Linked DNA regions of Homo sapiens: all the other regions are linked to region 1. Evidence: promoter capture Hi-C in 16 types of primary human blood cells and fetal thymus (Javierre and others, 2016). All regions are on one chromosome and are shown on one strand. The core of a region is centred on a gene start or on the middle of the fragment in contact, and the rest is flanking DNA. Distances in the headings are between cores, read along the strand shown.

Region 1 (3,388 bases), core at 361-2,860:
GGTTTCCTTCAAAATCTCTCCAAGAAGGCCCAAATCTCGCAAATTACTATTTCTGAAAATCCAAATTACAAGCTTTCAGTCATAGGTAACTTCTGCACATGGAAATGATTTATTTTGGGAGATGTGACATTATCACTCATCAAATTAGGAGACTTTTAAAGCCCTACCACTTTCAAGACACCTGGCTGAATTTAACTTGGTAGCAGCCAGATTCACAGATGGAATACTGTGTCAGGAACTCTTAGTAATTCATTTATCTTAATACTTCTAAATTTTGCAAGTTTGTCTAGACTATAATTCTTTTTTTTCCCATTTGAATACCAAAGGATGAAATCTTATTCTAAGTTTTCAAAAGACCTGGAAGGAATCCACTCATAACATATTTTAAAACAAGGAATTGGAATGAGCCCAAGATGAGGGCTCAGACAGCTAAGTTTTGGGCCCAGCATAGTCAGTAACTATCAGGGTAACTTGAAGAGGCCACTTAATCTCAGGTTCTTCTGTAGTGCATTGTACCTTCCCTCCCCGGAGCCCAGAGTTCTATCAAAGGTAATATGAATGGGTATTTGGAAAGTGCACTAAACCTCACATGGATGTAAGATCCTTTCATGTGTTCCTTCAATGATTGAAATGTTTCTTCCTACGTTCACCAGCCACTTCCTAATTCTCAAGTACAATGCACTACTTTCAGTTCTTTATTTACTTGAACTTTGTGTAACAGGTGACATCATGGACAATTCCCTCCTTTTTTCCTTCATTCTCTAGTTTACCTTTTCCTGGTTTATTTCCTATCTTGTGGGTTACTCGTTTTCAGGGTTATTCTTTCTCTGTCCATCTCTCTTAAGCAGACAACATTCCACACTTAGTGTTGGTGAGTTCCAATCAGAATTCTATCCTGGGTTTTGTTTTTTTCCACCTAAGTGCGTCTGGACTTTTGATATCACCTATCCGGGTAATCATTTTAGAAAATAGTGTTGCCTTAATATAGGCAAAGGCTAAGCCAATCTATCTTCTAATTAATTTGGAGAGGGCTTTCTTTCATTTGTAGCAATTGATGCTTTTCATCTAACAATTACAATATATTTGCATATTTATCATTGGAACTGTCTCTGCTTGTTTTAAACCCTGTGAAAACTACGCCCTGCTTTTCAGGAATGCTTAGAATGACTTGTATGTACTAGGAAAACTTGTTTACAAGTGAGCACCCAGAGATGACTCTTCACTTATTCCTTCATTGTTCCTGCTAGGATTGTGTACTCGCCTTTGCATTTTTCGATAGAGCTGTCAACGCGATCTACTGCAGTTAAAGGTTAGCAAACAAGACAGGCAAGAGCTAATGGGGCGGGGTGAAGACCCGCGTGCAAGAAGGCTGGCTTCACCAGATAAAGAAGACAACTGTCCTCCATTCTGTCCTTTTTTGCACGCAGGCTAAGAGGCGTTCACCATCTCTACGTCAGGCTTCAAAGAACAGCTCCCTTGCAATTTTGCTGATACCCCCATTCCTTAGCTTGGAACCGGAGGGGCGGTGAGGGCCGCTGTCACTCAGCCCCGCGGGCCAATAGAAAAGGGGTGAACCCCGCCTTCTTCCTGAGTTGTGCTGCGGGCATGCGCACTGGGCGTCCCCACGCCACCGCCCATCAGCTGAGAATTGCAGCTGAGGGCTCCGGGGTAGGTGGGTGACGGCGGTCGGAGGTGTAGGAGGGAGCCGTGGAGGTCCAGGTAAGAGGACCCTGGGGAGGGGGCTCCCTGGCCGGGCGACAGGGAGGCGCGGTGCCCCTGCGGCTGCTGCGCCTTCTTGTTTGTGCGCGTGGTCAGGTGGCCGCCGCCCTGCGCTCTGCAGCAGGCACTCGGGAGGCTAGGAAGGGCGGGACTGCCCCAGCTCCCGGAGCGCCTGCGGCTCCCCACGCCCCCCGGCCGGGTGCAAGGGCGCGGCGCGTTCCGCATTCCGGGTGCGCGCGGCTGTGGTCAGGTGGGCCTACCCAGCCACGCACCCGCCGCGGTCCCCTGGGCAGAGCTCCGGAGGCGCACGGCTGGCGGAGCGCACCCCGGGGAGGGCGCCAGAGCCGGCTGGGGCCCAGCTCAGGAATCCAGACACGACCAAATGACCTCTTCCTCTTTTCAACTCACGGATTGAAAAACACACTAAACTTCCCGAATATAGAGGAACTGAAAAATGTATGGCTGTAGCAGGCGAACCGTGTATGTTTATTTATTCAGAGGATCGTAGTATTGTTTTTTTAATTTGGCTTGATGACTTTAACATACTTTGACATTCTTTGAGTATACACCTTTAATTAATTTACATAAAAACCTTTAAACGTACATAAAATATTTCTAGTATTTCCTCCACCTTGTTTTCTAGTTACTTTCTTTAAATTCAGACAAAGAAAAAAAGTTGCATTTCTGATCAAATGCTGTGTGTTTTTTCCCACAAATTTCTTACATTTGTTTGGCTCTTATCTGTATACGTTAATTTTTGTTTACCTCAGATCGTTGTATTCTGACTATAATTATATATAATATATAAAACTTGCCCAGAATCTGGAAGAAAAGAAAGTAATTATGAAATGCTGTGCTATTTAATAATGTTGGAAGTGGACATTTCTTCTGCAGGTTCTCTGAGCACACCTGGGCAGAGGCTGATAACGGTGTTAAACTGTGTTTTGTGTTGTGGACAGGCCTTATAGGCTACTTTGAGAAGTTGGCCTCAGACTCGTGACTAGTTAAGAATTATGCTCTTAACTTCACAGTTTCTGTAGAGGTTAATATGATACCATATTAACTGATTAACATCATAATTTTTCCTCAGATATGTTACTTATGTTGCTCTTGATAACAAAATCAATCCTTATTTTGGTTATGACCCCAAACTTTAAGTGCTGATGATTGAAAAGTAAATTATAGAAAATATTCACAGTAAGTCTGAGTGAAGTTTGCTGTGATTCCATTTAATTTGCAAGTTTCATGTGTGAAAGTATGAAAAAAACAATCCTCGGTATTGTGAACTAAAACCAAGTAGTACAAAAGGTCAGTGATGAAAGAGCTAAGGCCAAAGAATACAGTTAATGTAGTTTTTGCAGAGGATACTTATGTAGACAGAGCACCCTCACATTCCTTGAGCATTTACTATGCACCAGGCACTGTAGATTACACAGGATGACAAGGTCATCTCTCTCCTGTTTATATTCCAGAAGTAGCTCCTGTTTGTATTCCAGAGGTGTAGGGATAAATAATAAACAGTGATTAATTCGACTTTTGAGTATTGTGAAGCAGTAAGTTAGATTGACAAAGAGTGACCAGTGGTGAGTTCTCACTTTCATATCAGAGTGGTCACAAAGGTTTCTCTAGCATGTGATGAGGCCTTGCTGGGGAGAAGGAGCCAGTCACG
Region 2 (3,388 bases), core at 564-3,063, 1.6 Mb before region 1:
TTCACCATGTTGGCCAGACTGGTCTCGAACTCCTGACCTCAGGTGGATCACCTTAGCCTTCCAAAGTGCTGGAATTACAGGCATGAGCCACCGTGCCAGGCCAAGTACTACATTTTAAAATTGCACTCTATAATGTTATGAAATTTTTACTACCACCAATAGTGTATGAGAAAGTCCCTTTACAAGTATACTTTCTAACAATTAATATTATCAAATTTTGAATTTTTTTTAATATTATGGGTGACACAGGCATGGTATTTTATTTCATTTCATAGAACTTTTCATAAAAATTTATGTTTGGTATCACTCTGATAAGCGGCAAGGTTGAGCATCTTTTATATGTTTGTTCAGCATTTATACCACCTCTTCTGTGAATTGTCTATTCTTATTCTCGTTTTTCTCTTATTTATGGATTATGAGTTCTTTGCTGATTTTGATATTAATCCATTGCCATGCATGGTCGTTCACACCTGTAATCTCAGCACTTTGGGAGGCCAAGGTGGGAGTCCAGGAGTTCGAGACAAGCCTAAGCAACATAACAAGACCCTATGTCTACAAAAATTAGCCAGATATGGTGGCACACACCTGTTGTCCCAGCTACTCCAGAGGCTGAGGTTAGGAGGATCACTTGAGCCTTGGAGTTCAAGGCTGCAGTAAATCATAATTGCACCGCTGCACTGCAGCCTGGGTGACAGAGGGAGACCCTGTCTCTAAATAAATAAATAAATAACATTGATTGTTATATATGTTACAAATATTTCCTCCCAGTCTTCTAGTTGTCTTTTAAACTTATTTGCAATGATGTTATGTAAAAGTTCAGAAATTTGATAAAATGGCATTTATTCACCATTTTTTAAGGCGTTAGCATTTTTATAATGTTTTAGAAGGTCTACTCTTAAGTATATTCTCCTTTTTGTTTTCTTTTAATAGGTTTGTTAAGTCTTTTGATTCGTTTGGAATTTTTGTAAATGCTGTGAAATATAGATCTATTTTTTTCAACACGGATTGGCAAATATCTGCTTTTAGAAAATTTATTTAGTTTCCTTTTGCTTAATTTTCCTTAAAGGAGAGGAAGGACTTTTTCCTCCGAATATCAGATCAATTAATCTTGAGGAAGTGCTGAGCCTGGCCTGGCTGGATCACATGTCCACCTGGGTGGCCAGGACAGCACAATTCCATGATTGGCAGCTGCCCCAAAGCTCATAGAATCAGTGTATGGGAGAAGTCCTCAAAATAAGGAACAATACTGTTCCCAAAGTCAGATAGGAAAAAACACTGAGTGGGGCTGGGCACAATGGAACATGCCTGTAATCTCAGAACTTTAGGAGGCCAAGACAGGAGGCTCAGTTGAGGCCAGGAGTTCAAGACCAGCCTTGGCAAACATACCAAGACCCCATCTGTACAAGAAAAAAAAAAAAGTCGGTCAGATAAAAATAATAAATGTTCACCATAGCCCTAAACAATCTCTTTTATCTTCTTGATAGCTTTCTTTCTGATCTTTTTGTTTGCTTCCATATAGATGAAGATAGTAATAATTTTAATAGGTAGCACTTACAGAGCACTTCTCTGTGCTGGGTTGTGCTCGCTGTTTTGCAGGAGTTCTTTTTAAAGATATGCCTTTGATGAAAAAAACTTCATCAAGCATTTTGAATACAGTTTAGATGTGAGAGAGAAGCTTGGGTTTTAAATTTTTTAAGTTCAAACATCCATTTTTCTAGTTAAAAAGAATGTACCAATCTAATACGCATGAGAGATGCTAATCAGAAAACGTGAAGGGCACAAGCCCACTCTTTGAGATTTTCACTGAAGAAAGTGAACATGTTAAAAAAATTCACTTTATTATTAATTTGCAAAACATATTATTAGTGATAAGCAAACGTTGGCACCCAGGTTAAAAGTTTAGCAAAATGATGTTTACAAAAACTGTGTAATGAAACAGAAAAAAGCTTAATGACAACATGCTGAAATTGTTAAAATTCTGAAGTTTGAATTCTGATTCTGTCACCTTGAAGCTGTGAGACTTTTGACTAAGTTACTTCATGTTCCCCGGTTTGCTCAACAGTAAAATAGGGGTGATAACAGTTCCTACCTCACAGGGGTGCTATAGGAATCTCAAGTGAGATAATGCACATGAAGCGCTTAGCCCTGCATCCAGCACGTTGTCAGCCATTGCTATTACAACCACCTTCATCATCTGTGAGTACAGCAAGCAAAACACTGCTTGGAAAAAAAATCAGAAGGAAATGAACCCATTGGAGACTGGCCAAAGAAGTACTCCTAAAAGCATAGCAAAAGGAATTCCAGAAGTTTACAATAACACAAGGAAGAAATTTACAGTTTGAAAATATAAATATCAGTTTAATAGTTAAGCTAAGTTTTAAATGTAATGCCTTATTTATTAAAGCCTTAAATTTAAGCCTGAAAGTTAGCGACATCTGCTGGAAGAAAGGTGAATTATTCAACTCACGTACCAAGCACCTGTCCTAATTCATTCAATTCAATACTTTATTGAGCAGGAATTTGGTATCAAATGCTTTCCTAGATTCTGTGGACAAAGTGATTAATTCCCATGCTCAAGGAATTTAGTCTTTCAGCTCAGGTATAAGCCACCTGTGCTTAAGAAGAAAAAAAGTGGACATTATCACCATGGATCTTTCAATTCTGTTAAAAAAATTAGATCTGTCGGCTGGGTACAGTGGCTAACACCTGTAATCCCAGCACTTTGGGAGGCTAAGGTGGGTGGATCACGAGGTCAGGAGTTCGAGACCAGCCTGGCCAACATGGTGAAACCCCATTTCTACTAAAAATACAAATATTAGCCAGGCATGGTGGCAGGCTCCTGTAATCCCAGCTGCTCGGGAGGCTGAGGCAGGAGAATCACTTGAAACTGGAAAGTGGAGGTTGCAGTAATCTGAGATCATGCCACTGCACTCCAGCCTGGACAACAAGAGTGAAACTCCATCATAAAAAAAATTAGATCTACAACCAAGAATAAATTAAGTAGCAATACAAAGCTGGTATATGACCAAATGTTAAAATAAAAACTATCAATAGTAGAGCCATAAGAGTTTAGGGAGAGACAGGATATAGCAACTAAGGTAACACCTGGAAAGTCATTCAAAGGTGTGATTCCAGAATTTCTTTTAATGACCAGGGGGAGCTCTGAATGTTTTTGAGCAGGGAACTGATGATAGAACTAGTACAGTCATGTCTCGCTTAACCAAAGGAACATGTTTTGAGAAATGTGTCATTAGGTGATTTCATAGTTGTTTGAACATTATAGAGTGCACTTATACAGACTGATGGTATGGCCTGTTACACACCTGGATTATATGGTATAGCCTATTCCTCCTAGGCTACAAACCTGTACAGCATGTTACTATACTGA
Region 3 (3,388 bases), core at 611-3,110, 1.6 Mb before region 1:
ACTTCTGAAAAAAAAGTCACCAAATTCATTTTGTCAGTATTAATGGGACATGATATTTTAAGTGAAATTAATGTTATAAACAAAAGAATTCAGTGTACATAATGCCTTTGAAATCATCAAAGGCAAGAAGAAAGTCTTTGAGGAAAAACAAATTGTGTTTATGATATCTAATTGACACCAAATGGCAGTCTATTGATATTAATGCCAACTTGTCTACATAGAAAATACTAGAACTATTATGATTTTTCTCAACACAAAGTCTGTTCCACCTATGAGCCAAAGCTAAAAGTCAATATCAATTCTTTGTTTACGTTAGATATAACAGCACTATTTTTAAAAGAAAACGTGGCTGGACGTGGTGGCTCACGCCTATAATCCCAGCACTTTGGGAGGCCGAGGCCGGTGGATCACAACGTCAGGAGTTCCAGACCAGCCTGGCCAACATGGTGAAACCCTGCCTCTACTAAAAGTACAAAACTTAGCTGGGCAGGGTGGTGTGCACCTGTAATCCCAGCTACTTGGGAGGCTGAGGCAGGAGAATTGCTTGAACCTGGGAGGTGGAGGTTGCAGTGAGCCAAGATTGTGCCATTGCACTCCAGCCTGGGCAACAGAGCAAGACTTCATTTCAAAAAAAAAAAAGAAAAGAAAATGTTACTATATCAAAAGAACATCCTGGTCTCTTCAATGCAAGATGACCAGTGTTATCTGCAGAACTACTATAACTATGTAACTCAAATGACACATTTACAATTTAAATTGACTGTTGACCATAGTAAGGAATTCCATATTGATGGGCACCAACACAGAAGCTTTTCCTAAAACCTATGATAAATCTCATTGGAGTGCAGCATAATTTTGAGGGACAATTTCCTAGATGGATTTTTTAAAACTTTCTTTTAATTTTACAGAATAGATGTAACTTAGCCAAAATTGGTCACCAGTGGAGAATGTGGCTTCTCAAAATTAAAACTTATCAAAAGTGACATAATGTCTATAGTGTCACAAGAATGCCCAATCCAGTAACCATTTTTGAAGGAAAAAGTTATTGGAGCAAGTAAACTGAAACTATCAAAATGAATTTCCTTCCTATAAAAGAAATATATATAATAATTTTATAAGAAATTGTTATAGTCCAATGACTTTGGGTGCCCCATTACTCCAATTAAAATGTAGACTTTTATGTCAGTTGACTTGGTTTGCATAAAATATACAAGATGACACCATATTTCTGTAACTATTATCATCCCTTCCTCCAAGCGCATGCCCATATCCATGGCAGCTACAGCTTAATTCCTTGATGTGCCTAATCTTCCAAACAAAATGGTGAAGCTTTCTTCAGCAAAATTCCTAGAAAACGAAGAAGTTTAAGAGTAGTTTTGTGCTTATTTAGAGCTAGAGGACAGTGCAGAAAAACATATCTCCCAGAAATCTAAGCCTTATTTATTATTATTATTTTTTTAGACAGAGTCTCACTCTGTCACCAGGCTGGAGTGGAGTGGCGCGATCTCGGCTCACTGCAACCTCCACCTCTCGGGTTCAAGTGATTCCCCTACTTCAGCCTCCTGAGAGCCTTACTTTTTTCTAACAAATATCAGTAGGGGTGGAAAAGTTGCTTTCCTTCCTTCTAGTCTAACATAACAAGCACTACAGATTATCCAGTAACAAAAATATTTAGCACCTCTCCTGACAAAAATAACAGCCAGAGATAGGAATATGGTAACTGGAGAAGGGTGCCATCAATGAAACAGAAATTTCAAAGAATTCCTGGGAAATAGACATCATATGGGCATATATTGATGAAGTGTTCTGTGAAGAGAAGCCACAAACCAAAATAGCTGAGAGAGGGACATGTACACAGACTGGAGCTTTTTTCCTAATGGTGCGCCAGGGATACCCGCAGTTCCCAGCCTCTGTGGACAGCTTTAGGTGTAGCCACAAGGTCATGAAAGAACCCAGCACTCGGTGGTTACCCCAACTCACGCTCCCACTACCCTGAAAGACTAAATTTACTAATGTACAATTGCCAGACTGTATTTAACAATATAATTCAGACCCACAACCTGCAGCAATGTGCCCAGGAAACCAGCCCCCTTATCTACAATAAACAGCCCAGGAAGCCAGTTTGCTACCTCTGGTAACCGTCCAGGAAGCTAAACAAGAACTTCTGCCACAACTGGCACAAAATGTCCAGGACTTGGTTAGTAACTGGCAGCCTCCCTAATTTTTGTTCTCACTTCCAACTTAGGACCAACCTGAGAAAGCCAATTATATGCCCCCAGCCAATCACACGGGATGCCCCACTTCTCAATAGACACTTTCAGCTTCCCCCTGCCAACAGCCTGCAGTCAGGGCACACCTGAAGCCTTGTGTTTCCCCTCACTATGAAGCTTTTCTGCTCCTCTGCCTGCCTTGTAGTCTCTGCCAAACATAGGTGATGGTGGCTGACTTCCTTGCTACAGCAAGCTCTGGATAAATAGCTTCTGCTTTTCTCATTTAGTTGGTCTTTGTTTATTTCCACAACCCAGGCTGGGTGCAGTGGCTCACACCTGTAATCCCAACACTTTGGGAGGCCAAAGGGGGAGGATCCCTTGAGTCCTGGAGTTCAAGACCAGCCTGGGCAATGTAGGGGTACTCCACCTCTACAAAACAAACAAACAAAAAATTAGCTGGGTGTGGTGGCATGCACCTGTGCTCCCAGCTGCTTGGGAGGCTGAGGCAGAAGAATTGTTCGAGCCTGGGAGTTTGAGCCTGCAGTGAGCCATAATCCCGCCACTGCATTTCAGCCTGGGTAACAGAGCGAAAACCTGTCTCAAAAAAATAAAAAACAAAATAAAACAAAAATAAATAAAAATTAAAACATAGTTCCACAACCCCAAAACAGATCTCAAAGATAAGTGGGTTTCTGCTCTAGAGAGCTCCCACATGGAGGCCAACAGATGCAGATGAAAGCCCAAGGTAACTTCCAACTTGACCACAGGGCCCGGTGGGAATAAAAGTCAAGTTTGCTTCTCCTGAAAATGAAATGCAGCAAAGGCCTCCACTTCAGGAAAGTCTTTCCTTGGCAACAGTGAGGATTTGTTATGGCCTGCTCACTACCCATAAAGGCATCATAGGGTCTGTCTGACTGTCTGCCCAGCTTCTCCTCTCACACAGCTCTGGAGCTGGCTTCTCACTGAGACTGTTCTGTTCTATGATTTATAATTTACATTAAAAAATTTATTGGTATATAATAGCTGTACAGATTTTGGGGGCACATGTGATGTTTTGATACATGTATACAATGTGTAATGATCAAATCAGGGTAATCAGGATAGCTATCACTTCAATTATTTGTATTTTCTTTGTGTTGGGGACATAACAATTCTTATTTTTAGCTATTTCGAAATAT
Region 4 (3,388 bases), core at 443-2,942, 1.6 Mb before region 1:
GCTCAAATAATAAAGATATTTTGTAAGCTCATGTCACTCAAAATTTCAGAGGTCAGATAGGATTGGTTTGATTTGTAAGTTTTTAAAGATGTTATTAAAGACCCAGCATATCTGCCTCCTCTCATTGTTCTAATCACATAAATCTGGCTCTCCCTCATGCTCATAAGATTGTGGCAAACAGTATCTGAGGGATGTTTCCTCAACCACATCCAGAGAGAAAGCCTGTCCATGGTTATATTTATCGTTATATTTTGATGCTGGCCTTTCTGGTAGCAGAACTGTTTTGAAAGCCATAGTGAGCCAAACAGATCTTTCAGCAGGCAGCTGCCTGTACCACCAGAAGTCCCACTTGCAGGGGGAACATTAAGAATTGACTGTTTTGTAATTGGCCAGAGTCCCATCCTTCCAAGACTTCTTTCTGTCAACATATAATTATTGAGTTCCTGCGCTAAGTCTTCAATGAAGCATGAGGGGAAGGACGAGTTAAACTGTATGCTGTATTTCCTCTCCATTATCAATGCTGAATTTTAAACCAAACCACCAAAATGCCTATTATTTAAATTACAAATGCTATTTTATCCTGGGGAGCAGAATAAATTATTGGAATATTTATTCGCATTTTAAAAAAATTTTGTAGGGAACCTGAAGAATGGGATTGTTTTTTCCTCCTTTCACACCCTAAGAAATTAGATTCTGACTCTGTGCTCCCTGACGTCAGGATATTTTTATTGTTGAACTAAAAACAGAAGGTGGAACATGCTCAGAGTAAGCCCTTCCCTGCCTCACCAATCCTCCAGCTTGGCTTTTGTTCCAGGAATAGAGGACCATCAAGGGAGGCCTGTACTGTGGGTGGAGGAGCCAGAACTGACCAGACAAGGATGCAGGAGTATTGGTTCCAGAACCTGAGGAGAAACTGGCATTTAGGGGGTTCATGCTGAGTGGGTCCTTGTGCCCCAAGAGGACCTAAGACCTTCCTTATGAGGTGGCTCGTAACTGATAAAGGAACTGAATACTAATAATGAGTATTAATACTAATGTCAAGGGGAGTGTACTTATGTCAAGGGGAGTGTTTCCTGATGTTTCCTCCCACATGGAGGGAACTCCATGAGTCAAACACCTAATCTCTCTCCACCCATAACTGTTGGTCCTCCCAGGCAAGGAGAAGCCACTGCTCTGATGAATAGGTTGGCGGAAGGAACCAGGTCTGCACATCCCAGGTCTATTCCATTCTTCCTTGATCTCTTCTGCTATCAATTCTCCAGGCTCTGCCCTAAGGAACAAGGACTGCAGTTGCAGCCTTGGCTGGGCAGGTGAACCAGTCTATCTCTGGGGTTTGGTATTAGCAAACCATTCAGTCATCCTCCCCAGCCTAGTTTTCTCAGTATCTAAAGTGATATTTTGATCTCTACCTGCACTGTTCCCGCACCTGTCTCTCAATGGGTCCTTAACTCAAGTAGCAGAGAAAAGGAAGTGCCATGTATTGACCCCTTCAGACACCAACAACTAAGGATCATGGCCTTGGACACTGAGGTAACAATTCTTCCTGCCCACTTTGAATAAACCATTCAAGCATTCATTTATTTATTCAACAAATATGAATTGACTGCCCGAGATGTGCTAGGCATAGTTCTCAGCAGTGGAAATATGCCAGATGGGTGTCTCAACCCCAGCAATGATATAGTGAAGACAAGATGCCTTTTATGTGTTTGGGGGGCATCATGTAAGTCCTCAGATCCCTAATGACACTCCCAAAACATGACTGATGTATGTAATTTAGAATAAATAATACAATCGTTTGCACATATAAGTACTGTAGATCAAATTCATAACCACTACTAATAATTTAAATTTACTTAGAAAGGGTAGCTGTTCATTGAGGGAGCTAGAGGGCAGGATAGGAAGGGAAAAGATAGGACCTTTCCTTGAACTATATAGCGGTTATACGAACAACGTAAAAATTGATAATCTTTTCACCCACATCTATTCTATCACATGGAGAAAAAAATTCTAACCTCAAGTAAACTGGGTTCAAAATGAGAAAAGTAAAATGTTAAAAACAAAAAAGGCTAAGATACATCACTCTTTTCTCTTCATACAAAAATTTTTAAAGTTATTGAACAGAAAAATAAATTCATATATGTTGATTCAACACTTGTCAGATTTAAAGTAGTCTTTAAATAACTGGATGGCCAAAATACCATATTTCTAAGAAGGCTGTGTATTAGTGTGTTCTCACACTGCTAATAAAGACATACCCAAGACTGGGTAATTTATAAAGGAAAGAGGTTTAATGGACTCACAGTTCCACGTGGCTGGGGAAGCCTCACAATCATGGCAGAAGGCGAATGAGGAGCAAAGTCATGTCTTAATGGTGGCAGGCAAGAGGACATGTGCCAGGGACCTCCCTTTTATAAAACCATCAGTTCTCATGAGACTTATTCACTATCATGAGAAAAGTATGGGAAATACCTGCTCCCATGATACAATTACCCCCTACCGCATCCCTTCCACAACATTTGGGAATTATGGGAGCTACAATTCAAGATGAGATTTGGGCAGGGACACAGCTAAACCATATCAGGAATATTAATCTGACAGAATAACAAAAACCCCATAATCTCCTTCAAGATCTTTAAATGATCTATTGCAGTCCCCATACCTTGCTTATTTCGAAAACTCTAAAGGAAAAAGATTTTGAACCACAAACTAATAAAGATTATTATTATTCTCATTTATATTCCTTTTTTTTAGAAACAGGGTCTTGCTCTGTTGCCCAGGCTGGAGTGCAGTGGGACAATCAGAGTTCACTGTAAACCTTGAACTTCTGGGCTCAAGTGATCCTCCCACCTCAGCCTCCAGAGTAGCTGGGACTACAGGCATGCACCACCATGCCCTCCTAATTTTTTTAATTTTTTGTAGAGATGGGGTCTCATTGTGTTGGCCAGACTGGTCTTGAACTCCTAGCCTGTATTAGTCAGGGTTCTCTAGAGGGACAGGACTGATAGGATAGATGTATATACGAAAGAGAGTTTATTAAGGAGTATCAACTCACACAGTCACGAGGTGAAGTTCCACAATAGGCCGTCTGCAAGCTGAGGAGCAGAGAAGCCAGTCCGAGTCCCCAAATCTCAAAAGCAGGGAAGCTAACAGTGCAGCCTTCAGTCTGTGGCAAAGGCCCGAGAGCCCCTGGCAAACCACTGGTGTAGGTCCAAGAGTCCAAAAGCTGAAGAACCTGGAGTCCAGTGATCGAGGGTATGAAGCATCCAGCACTGGAGAAAAATGGAGGCCAGAAGATTTAGCCAGTCTAGTCTTTCCATGTTCTTCTGCCTGCTTTTATTCTAGCTGTGCTGGCAGCTGATTGCATTGTGCCCACCCAGATTGAGGGTGG
Region 5 (3,388 bases), core at 260-2,759, 1.5 Mb before region 1:
GAAAAAGGACTTATCTAGTTGAGTCTGGTGTCATTCCTAGTTCTTGGTTTAAAGCAACAGAAACCAACTCCAACTTGGAAACTGTAGTCAAGAATAACTCCCCAAATCCTGCTTTGAGCTAATCTAGCCACCCCTGAGCACATACCTAACAGTGTATATCTAGCAACTCTGACATTAAATATTTTGGCCAGAGCCACTGCCACCATCCTCACTGGAAGGTGGGGCCTGTAGATCCTGCTACTTTGTGCTACAGCTTCTGATGCAAAATCCAGGGTGCATGAACTGCTTGGCAGAGCCTGGTCCTAAGAGAAAAGGGAGTATCAGGCCTTTCCAGCTTCTGTTTAGGAGACAGGTTCTTCCTTGCAGAGGGGGATTCCCAACACAGGAAGGATCTTCTGATCCTGGGCAGCCTAGAAGAAAATAAAAGCCCGTGACAAGCTCTAACATGTCCACCTGAGCTGAAATATAATGAGTTCATCTTCAGAAGCTGAGCACAAGGTTTCGCATTTCAGTAAGCTTTCTGCTCCAGATTTTCCCTGAGTTATTCAGATTATTTAAACTTGGAAAGTAGTCATTTTCTGTGCAGTGCCCTCCTTATTGTCTGGCAAACAAGGGACATGTAATGAAAGCAGACCAGAGTTCCCAACCCAATAACTACTGCTTGTTGTCATGTATGATCAAGCAACTTTTTCTGACTTCATGGTATCAAAGGCAGGTTAATCTCAAGGAAAGGTTTAATCATTGAACAGCTTTTTGTTAATGCCCTCCATCCAAGGGTCATGGCAATCGGACTGAGAGAGATTTTTAAGTTAAAAATACTTTATTTGGAAAAATAGCTAATCAAAGGAAGAACAGTGCTCATTCCACGTAGCTGGGCAGTACAAAGACAGACATGGGCCAAACTAATAGATATGACATTGGTGTGATTTAAAGGGAGATGATAATTTGAACAGCCCCATCAGTTGCCCAAATGTACCTTTGAGCAAATTAGAAAAAGCTGCCCTTTCTTCAGGTTAGTATTGTCATATTCTGGAAGATTTGCTTTATAAATAAGCAAACTTCTGCTGTCTGCAAATGAGAATGACCCACTTAGAGTTGTACTGTGTCCAAATTGCACAATGGTATATGGCAGCCCTAAGTATGAAGAAGTTTTCTTCAAATTTATATTTATTATATATACAATCTGATAGAAGCATTAAGCAAACAACTTTTAAGACAGTACTTTTTACACATGATTTACCACCTCAACCTATTAGTTATTTTCAGTTGTTCCAAGTTTCCTTCCAGTCTCTACCAATAGGCGCATATATTTTAAGAAAGTATTGTAATAGTAATGAGTATGCAACTTTCTGTATGCCACTTTGATTCTCCCACTTAAAATAATTGGAAAAACATTTTCTTGCATTGCTACATTGTCTTTCTTTTAATGATTTATCACATGTTATAGCAAGTGAACATACCATAATAAATTTAACCACACTTACTTTGTAATTTGAGGAACTTTAATCAACATGTTATGAGTGATAATATTCTACACCTAAGGAAAGAAGTCATAATGAAAACTTTCAGATAGAGAAGTTATTTAGATAGTATAAACAGTGAAATAATAAACATCCTTCCAAACAATCATACCAAGATGAATATTTTATTGCAATTAGGCTAAACAAGAAGTGAATTTGTATTTGGAATTTTTTTGTTTGCATAAAGACCATATTTTCCCATTTGTGTTTACACTGTAATGAACCATTGTAGAAGGTGCATTCCACATCAATGTGCACTGCAGGGTGCACTGCAGGGAAACAATACGGTGTAGTGAAAAGCATTTGGGTTTTGGAATCAAATGGACTTGAACTGCTGTGCTCTGAAATGTTATGTTCTGCATAAAAAGACTTGTGCAAGAGTGCTCATAACAGTTTTATGTGTAATAGCAAAGAATTGGAAACAGCCCAGATGTCCATCAATAGGAAAATGGATAAACTGTGGTGTATTCACCCATATAACACTATTCAGCAATAAACAAAATGAACTACTAATATACATAAAAACATGGATGGATATCAAAACTATGCTCAGTGAAAGACTCCTTACACAAGGCTGCATTCTCTGTGGTTCCATTATATGAATTAAGGTTTAGAACAAGCAAAGGTAATCTATGTGGAAAAATATCAGAAAATTGGTTGCTTCTGGAGCTTTTTTGTCTTGAAAAAAAGAACCTAGTATTGAACTCTATTTAATAATATGCATTCTGAAGTATTTCAACTTACTTTGATATGTATAAAAACTAATACGGATCGACTGATGGATGGAAGAATTGTTATATATAGATGTGAATGAGCAAGCATGGTAAAATGTCGAGTGTAGGTTTTCCTGTGGGATTCAAATTTTTATAATTCAACATTGGAAAATGTTTTGATCTTAGAAATGTTTCATAAACTTCTCGGTTTCAGTTTCTGCAAAATGGAAGTAACGGTATTTACTTCACAAGGTTTTTGTGAAGCTTTTAAAAAATTGCCATGAAAATAGGCATGCTCTATGGTAGATGTTTACGAGCCCTGTGAAGCTGCTTGTCTTTCATCCCCTCTTCCCCGCTGTGCCAGTTTATAAGTCAGGATAGGTGTTTTTGGATTTGGTAGCATTGCCTATGAGCAGTGGTCCAAAGTGGTATGTAGCAAAATTATTGGGGTTATGAAGAATGAACTGTCTGCTGTCTGCTGATTATGAATTCCTTGAGTGGAGGAACAGATTTTAATAATGGAAGTGGCTCAAACTCCAGGGAAGATGGATAGCCTGTGGTTATACTTGGTCTAAAGGAATTGGCAGAAACAGAGAGGAAGGACAAAATGTCATAGGCAATCATCATATGGATTTTAATATTTAAAAACTAAATAGTTATTTAGTCACTAAAAGCTCTATTTGTGAGCACTCATTTATCTAACAAATATTTATTAAGTGTCTACTGCATGCCTGGCATTGTGTTAGGAGCTGGACGAATGTGCAAGATAGAAATAGGTGCCTGCCCTCTTGGAGCATACATTCTAGTGTTGCTAAAGTTTATTGGATTTACAGGGATCAGTCTGTCAGCCAGCAAATACTTACTGAGTATTTGCTGAGTGCCAGACACGCAGAATACTATAATAAACTAAACAAACATAGTCCATACTCTCATAGAGTTTGCAATCTAGCAGAAAAGGCAGATTTAATTGAATCACCGCATTTAACTGTATTAAATACATTATGGTGTGCAAAAGGCTGGGAAGGAGAAGTACAGGGTTCGTAACAGAATTGAGGCAGAGTTTCCCCCCTCTAGTCTGGGTGAAAAAAATTTTCTCCCCTAAACTTTTCTCTGAGTTAAGAGATTGAGGTAAGTACAAACAGAGCTTGAGATAGC
Region 6 (3,388 bases), core at 283-2,782, 1.5 Mb before region 1:
TACAGCTACATAGAATATAATATAGATGAAACTCACTAAGATAATGCTGAGTGAAAAAAGACACAAAATAGTAAGTGTAACATTTATAAATAGTACAAAAGTAGGCAAAATGCATCTAGTGTTAAAAGTCAGGAGACTGGTTCCTCTAAAGGGCAGAAGTGACTGAAAGGAACAAATCACACATTATTTCTATCTTGGTATGAGCATCTTGTATCATTCAATCCATAATTGATAAGTGTGGTTTCAATATCATAGAATACCTGTTACTGTGATACTTCCTGTTGAAAAAATCTGTAATGTAGCTCTTAGAGATTTTATCCGATAGCACACAGCAGGATGAAGTTCAGGTTCGTAACTACACAAAATAAGCCACAATTAATATAAATATTTATACCCTGACTAGTAATTTCAAATTTGGTAATTTCTCAAGATAAATTGCTTCAAAGACTTACCTGGCATGAGGTCTATTGTTCTTTGTGAATTCTGGCAAACGGATTTCAAATGGCATGTTACACACTGCCAGAACGTTAACAACCTTAAAATCTGTAAATATTACCTTTAGGAGAGAAGTAAAATTCAATAAATTTATTTTGAAACAAACAAACAAAAAATCTGCTCATAATGGCAATCCTTAAAAACAAGAGCAAACAAGATAAAACAAAAACATTTTAAGTGTATGTTTAGTACTGTAAGTTGTGTAGCATGGAAAGCTTTAATTCAGTTTTTTAAAAAGCTCAAAAACTCCATTAAAAAAATTAAAAACTGAGGTATTTGCATGATCAAAACAGTATGGGTCTTTCTAATCATATGTTTAATTTTTTAATACTTTAAGTGAAATATTTAAAACTACTGAGAAAGGAGAGAGAATAGTGAGGGAAAAAAAATTTAAGTCCAGGTCATCCTGCTAGAGTAAAAATGGAAAAGATGTCACTTTAAAGTCAGTAAATACAGAGTGTACACTGGGCTCCAAAAGTCAGATGTTTTTCTCATATGCAATAAGGCAAAATGACATTTCTGTGAGATTAGCTAGATGTTTATTTTCTTTCTGGGGATAGAGTGATAAATTTGTTTCTAACTAATTGGGATTTCTCTCAACACTTCTAATGTTACACTAAGAAAAGAAGTTCCAAGGCTGAAAATAATGCTGTTAACATTAATAACTTTGGCCACTCCAACCAACATCTTCGTTTCATCTCATTATCTTTTCAAACATTCCTCCTAAAACCACAATTTTGGGTGAGCGAACTATCCTTCAACTCAGCCTTGCACACAGCAGTTGCGCAAAGCCAGGAAACCGCAAAGTGGCAGCACTCTCAAATCACAGTACAACTCAAGCCTCTCTCTACTGCCACCCTTCTCAAGCACCAACCCCCACTCCCCACCAGCCGTTCAGTCTCTTCCTATCACCCTCTACTTCAGAGAGACTGAGTCATCAGAGGGAAAGGTAACTTCCTATCCCCACTTCTACAAACTTGTCTCAATCCCAAACAGCCTTGCCCTCATCTTCAGGGACCATTCTCATCTTTATCTTTCATTTATTCATCATTTGCAAGTGACCTAGCAAGTCCATAATATGTAATCGTTTTATTCAAAGGTATACCTCTATCAAGTTATAGTGATGAGGCTGACATGCCAGTGACAGTCACGTTACAAGTGTGAGAGCCTGCCAGCTGGTGTGTCCATGTCAACGGCCTCTGCCATTCTCTATTCACCATTCTGACCTGGCATTCTTGAGATGACCAAAAACCATTTTGTTTGTGTACGTCAGAGGTGAAAACACTTAAAAAAGAGTTGAAAAGGAAATTAACTTGTGAGGAAACAAGTCTCTTTATGGGAAAGGAATTAGGGAAAAAGCTAGGATCCTTTACAAATACCCACATAGCCAAATTTTGCTACTAATTTTCACACTGAAGGGCAGTATTAAAAAACCTAGAAAAAGTTTAATCATAAGAATAGTACGCATAGTGATTTCTTGAGTCTATTACAATTTTTAATTCTATAAAAATAAGTCCTTGAATATTTGTAGTTTAGATACTATTTGAAAACGTTACCTGAAAACCTAGTTTCTGCAGACTACGGGCTAAGCGTCTGGCACCAAATTTAGCTTCTTCTTCACTACGGTTTTAAGGAAAGAAAAAGATTATCAGTTACACAGGAAATAAATGTTATACTGAGGAACATAACAAACTTTACATATGATTTTGCTGTTAAGTCTAGGAAAATGTCCTTTCCATGAGGGAAAAAGTAAAAAATAAAAACAAAAAACCCAAGTAGCATTTACCTTGTTGCTCCAGTGCAAATAATTTTTCCTGAGGACCAAATTGTAGCTGTAATTCTAGGTTTTCTAAGCTTCATTAATACTTTCTGGGGGGAAAAAAAATCTGATTACCTCATAAGCATTATTTTTCACATAAGGTTCTGTTCTATATAGTCATATTAATGTCCAAATACTACTCTCCAAGCTTATCCAAGACTGCAATAACTGCTCTCCAAATCTACCATTCTGAAATCAAGTACAATACCAAACACAAAGAACATATTAATCCAAAAAGACATTTGATTAATTAAAAATACAAGGTGTATAGAAATCTCTCACTCTATATACTTGAAATCAATGTACTCCAAGTATATAAACAATTCAACTCTCATTCCACCCCAGTCATATAACTGGAACTTGCATGGTTCTTCACACACACCAAATCTGTTCATGCTTCAGAAGCTTTGCAGTAGCTGTTGCTTTCATTTGGAATATTATCCCCTCAATATTCTCACTTCATTCAGGTCTCTTACCAGATGTCACCTCCTGAAGAGAGGCCCTCCCTAATCATTTCCCTGAAACACCCATCCCTTCATTGCTTTCTAATTCCTAATTCTGCTTTCTGCTGCTTCATGGTACCCATCACTACTTTATATTGCATCCTAGAGTTGAGATGCTTATTACATACTCAAGTTCAACATCGGCATCTTGAATAAAGGAGAAATGTTGGAGCTGGAGATGTAATTGGAAATTCATTTAAAGCTATGGGTTACAATGAAATAACTACAGAGTGTGTATAAATAGGTCAAGGACTAAGCTCCAAGAAAATATGCAAATTTAAATTTTCATTCCAACTTTTCATTAATGGAAATATTTGTTAGATGCTCATTCTATGTAAGAAAGACATAAATGCTCACTGACTAACATAAATGAATCAGATGTTTCTGCTTAAAATTTTTGTTACATTTTGTGTTCTTCATTCTCTGTCATATGCCATATTATCAAACTAGAAAGCTATTAAATCTGGGCAGACTCAAAATTCACCAAAGATCAAGATAAAATTTGAACTAAAATACATTATAAAATTTCATATACAAGTGACTGAGAAACACTTGACTGAGTTTATCCTAC
Region 7 (3,388 bases), core at 543-3,042, 1.5 Mb before region 1:
CTTACACACCCACACGACACACACACACATGCACACACACTCTCTCTCTGTTTCTTTCTGTCTCTCTCTGTCTCTGAAGTTGAAGAGCTCAGCAGAATGCTTGGGTTAAATCTAGACTCTACCACTTATTAGCCATATGACTGTGGGTAAGTTAACACCTTTGTGCCTCAATATCCTCCTCTGTAAAATAAGGCAGATAAACAGAACCCATCATAGTGTTGTGAAAATTAAATTTCATATAAAGCGCTTGGCACAGTACTTGCACATGACAAGCATTCAAATGTAGCTGTTCTTATTGTTACTATTATTATATCTCCTTTCTTCATATGGATGGAGAAATGTTCAAAAATGGAAAGGATTTCTAGTTACTCACTGTAGTCCTCAAGCTTTGGAACACAAAAGCAAATCATATTCCTTCAAGTTTAAAAGTAAGTGGTAAAAATAAAGAATACAACTTTGATGTATCTGTTAAGTGAAATGAGTACTGAAAAAAGCACTAAATTTAACAGTGAATTAAAAAAAAAAACCCACAAAACTCCAACAATAACAAAACCATCAAATCAAAGCAAATAGTTGTTGATCATGGGGTTCTTTTTTGGTGGTGCTGAGGGGAGTGGGGACAGGGAAGGTGGCAAATGAAACAGGAAAAGACTGACCAAATCTACTACATGTTACGAAATAGGTATTATGCTAGATTTTACTTCATTAGGTACCTGCAAAAAAGCAGGAAAATTAGAAGCATAATGGGTTTGGATATTAAATTGTGATACAAGTTTATGATGTTCATTTCATTTAAATTGTAAGGTATTTGTTTTCTTGAGCAGGTCTTATATGTGCCCCTACTTCCCATATTACGGACTATAATTTTAAAAGCTAAAAAGTTTCATCTCTTTACTGAGAAGTTTGATATTTGTCCTAAGCTACTGTAAGTGACTATAATTTGTAAGACTAATTTAGCCATTAAATTAATGCTAACAAAACAGCATAATTTTTAAAAGATTATTAGTTTCATTTACAAGTGTAAATGTTAATTCACTAGGGTAGCTAAAAGACTGAATAAATCTTCTCATAAGTTGGTGTCAGAATTGGCATGCATCAAGATCAAGCCTCTCTATATTCTGATTTATTTCAAGGGTGTGAATGCAGGGCTCAAACTTGAAGCACTGATAACTCATCAAGAATTTAATCAAGAGAAAGTACTGCATGGGGAAAATACAACGGGTGAAACTTCCTATTTTCATAGTTTCGACTGTTTTTATAGAGTTACCCCTCATATAAAATGCTCTAGCATAGACAACCTGTTTAAGGTCTATGTCATGCACAAATGCCATTTTAAGAAAAGGAAGGTCAGATTATGAAATTAGTTACTTGGGAAAATAAAACAGAGTTCGGCCGGGCATGGTGGCTCACACCTGTAATCCCAGCACTTTGGGAAGCTGAGGCGGGTGGATCACGAGGTCAGGAGATCGAGACCATCCTGGCTAACACGGTAAAACCCCATCTCTACTAAAAATACAAAAATTAGCCTGGAGTGGTGGCAGGCACCTGTAGTCCCAGCTACTCGGAGGCTGAGGCAGGAGAATGGCGTGAACCCGGGAGACGGAGCTTGCAGTGAGCCAAGATGGTGCCACTGCACTCCAGCCTGGGAGACAGAGTGAGACTCCATCTCAAAAAAAAAAAAACCCAAAAAACCCAAAAAAACAAAACAAAACAAAAAAAACAAACAGTTCAAACATTTCTGGTTTAAAAAACAGTACAAAATATACTTAAAACAAACATGATTACATAATGAACACTCTTTCCACATGTAAGCACCATTAGGAATTTCTTATTTTACTCAGAGCTTGTCAGATCTGAGTAACTGGTTGAAGGGTGCGTCACTCAAAAAGGATAAACACAGAGAACTTGGCTAGAGATCAGAAGAAAGCCATACATTTTTAAAACCTGAAATTATGGTCTGTGAGAAAGTCAAGAACACTACCACAACAGTAGGGTGAGTAATTTAATGATAATATACAAGTAAAAGAATGGGTTCTTACACAGAACACACAAGAGTGATAAGGAAGTTTTCTGATTGGAACATTGGTTCTTTTTTTTGAGACGCAGTCTTGCTCTGTCGCCCAGGCTGGAGTGCAGTGTCACGATCTCGGCTCATTGCAACCTCCGCCTCCCAGGTTCCCACCATTCTCCCGCCTCAGCCTCCCGAGTAGCTGCGACTACAGGCGCCCGCCACCACGCCTGGCTAATTTTTTTTTTTTTTTTTGTATTTTTAGTAGAGACGGCGTTTCACCACGTTAGCCAGGATGGTCTCGATCTCCTGACCTTGTGATCCGCCCGCCTCAGCCTCCCAAAGTGCTGGGATTACAGGCGTGAGCCACCGCGCCAGGCCGGTTCTTAACGATCAAGAAAAAGACAAGGACAGGCCTGGTGGACTCATGCCTGTAATCCCAGCACTTTGGGAGGCCAAGGTGGGCAGGTTGCTTGAGCCAGGAGTTACAGACCAGACTGAGCAACATGGTGAGACTCTGTCTCGACAAAAAAATACAAAAATTAGCCAGATGTGGTGGTGTGTGCCTATAGGCCCAGCTACTCAGGAGGCTGAGGCAAGAGGATTGAGCCTGGGAGGTCAAGGCTGCAGTGAGTTATGATCACACCACTGCACTCCAGTCTGGGCTATAGAGTGAGACTATGTCTTAAACAAATAAAAAGACCAAAAGACAAAACAACAGAAACAAGATAATAACTATGAAGATGCTCAAATCCCACAAATACAGATTTAATTGACCTTGATAGGGCCCTAATTTTGAAAATATTTCCAAGATGTTTCTAATGGGTAGTCAGTTGAGAACGACTGGGTTGAAACACCATCATAGGGTAATTAAAATAATGGAATTTCCCTCTCCATAAATCCTTAAAAAGGGCTCTATTCTTCTATCAGTACTGTTTTTCAGAGAACATCAAGACTTCTACATTCTGTTTACCATCCCTTGTTTCCCAAACTCCACTTCATGCTTTTAAACCAGCATAATCTGTCTTCTGCCTCTACACAGTACAAAATGTTACAAATGAATGGCTCATTGCTGAATTCAATGGCACACTTTAAACTCCCTCCTACTCTAGAGCATAAAGCACTGGGAACTTCTGATTCTCCAACTGCTCCCTTGCCATGTCCTATCCCTGGATTCTGAAGAAGCTTTCTTGAATTCTCTCCCCATCTCATATACTTCTCTGTCTGTTCCTTAAATCAGAAGTTCTTAACTGAAATCCATGCCAGACCCTGAAAAGCTCAACAATAGGTTCCACAGGTTAGGAACCCCCTGAAATTGTATACACACTAATCTGTACCTGAGAAGGCCATTGTTTTTTTCATATTACCAATAGGTTTAAG

Evidence for each region. Contacts are between HindIII fragments. The CHiCAGO score rates a contact against its expected background, and 5 or more counts as called.
Region 2: a fragment that was not itself captured here is called in contact with the fragment with the promoter of STX7 in region 1 in 2 of 17 cell types (total CD4 T cells and total CD8 T cells); the score reaches 6.2 in total CD4 T cells.
Region 3: a contact is called between a fragment that was not itself captured here and the fragment with the promoter of STX7 in region 1, in 5 of 17 cell types (M0 macrophages, naive CD8 T cells, total CD4 T cells and 2 more). The highest score is 8.1, in M0 macrophages.
Region 4: a fragment that was not itself captured here is called in contact with the fragment with the promoter of STX7 in region 1 in 2 of 17 cell types (naive CD8 T cells and non-activated CD4 T cells); the score reaches 5.8 in naive CD8 T cells.
Region 5: a contact is called between a fragment that was not itself captured here and the fragment with the promoter of STX7 in region 1, in 1 of 17 cell types (naive CD8 T cells). The highest score is 5.7, in naive CD8 T cells.
Region 6: a contact is called between a fragment that was not itself captured here and the fragment with the promoter of STX7 in region 1, in 2 of 17 cell types (naive CD4 T cells and naive CD8 T cells). The highest score is 6.8, in naive CD4 T cells.
Region 7: a contact is called between a fragment that was not itself captured here and the fragment with the promoter of STX7 in region 1, in 7 of 17 cell types (naive CD8 T cells, naive B cells, activated CD4 T cells and 4 more). The highest score is 7.2, in naive CD8 T cells.

What each region holds. Positions count from the first base shown.
Region 1 is chr6:132,511,338-132,514,725 of GRCh38, reverse strand. It overlaps STX7 (syntaxin 7), which reads left to right and starts at 1,610. Exons shown (of 10, transcript NM_003569.3): 1 at 1,610-1,719. RefSeq lists enhancers at 1,304-1,503, 1,861-2,362 and a silencer at 1,654-2,143. The HindIII fragment of the contact is 4,830 bases long and covers 75-3,388 here.
Region 2 is chr6:134,122,825-134,126,212 of GRCh38, reverse strand. No RefSeq gene overlaps it. Among named protein-coding and RNA genes, the nearest start is that of SLC2A12, 72 kb to the right of the region's middle. The HindIII fragment of the contact is 271 bases long and covers 1,678-1,948 here.
Region 3 is chr6:134,101,971-134,105,358 of GRCh38, reverse strand. All of the region lies in intron 2 of LOC124901404 (a long non-coding RNA gene), which reads right to left. Among named protein-coding and RNA genes, the nearest start is that of SLC2A12, 51 kb to the right of the region's middle. The HindIII fragment of the contact is 1,058 bases long and covers 1,332-2,389 here.
Region 4 is chr6:134,085,676-134,089,063 of GRCh38, reverse strand. It overlaps LOC124901404 (a long non-coding RNA gene), which reads right to left. Exons shown (of 3, transcript XR_007059774.1): 2 at 3,053-3,269. Among named protein-coding and RNA genes, the nearest start is that of SLC2A12, 35 kb to the right of the region's middle. The HindIII fragment of the contact is 7,307 bases long and covers 1-3,388 here.
Region 5 is chr6:134,054,677-134,058,064 of GRCh38, reverse strand. No RefSeq gene overlaps it. Among named protein-coding and RNA genes, the nearest start is that of SLC2A12, 3.7 kb to the right of the region's middle. The HindIII fragment of the contact is 1,981 bases long and covers 519-2,499 here.
Region 6 is chr6:133,981,544-133,984,931 of GRCh38, reverse strand. TBPL1 (TATA-box binding protein like 1) reads right to left here. Exons shown (of 7, transcript NM_004865.4): 3 at 2,282-2,364; 4 at 2,052-2,115; 5 at 453-556; 6 at 261-355. Among named protein-coding and RNA genes, the nearest start is that of TBPL1, 30 kb to the right of the region's middle. RefSeq lists an enhancer at 1,298-1,467. The HindIII fragment of the contact is 1,639 bases long and covers 713-2,351 here.
Region 7 is chr6:133,962,750-133,966,137 of GRCh38, reverse strand. The region is part of intron 1 of TBPL1 (TATA-box binding protein like 1); the gene reads right to left. All of the region lies in intron 1 of LOC128092253 (umcharacterized LOC128092253), which reads right to left. Among named protein-coding and RNA genes, the nearest start is that of TBPL1, 11 kb to the right of the region's middle. RefSeq lists enhancers at 1,296-1,465, 3,084-3,253. The HindIII fragment of the contact is 2,807 bases long and covers 389-3,195 here.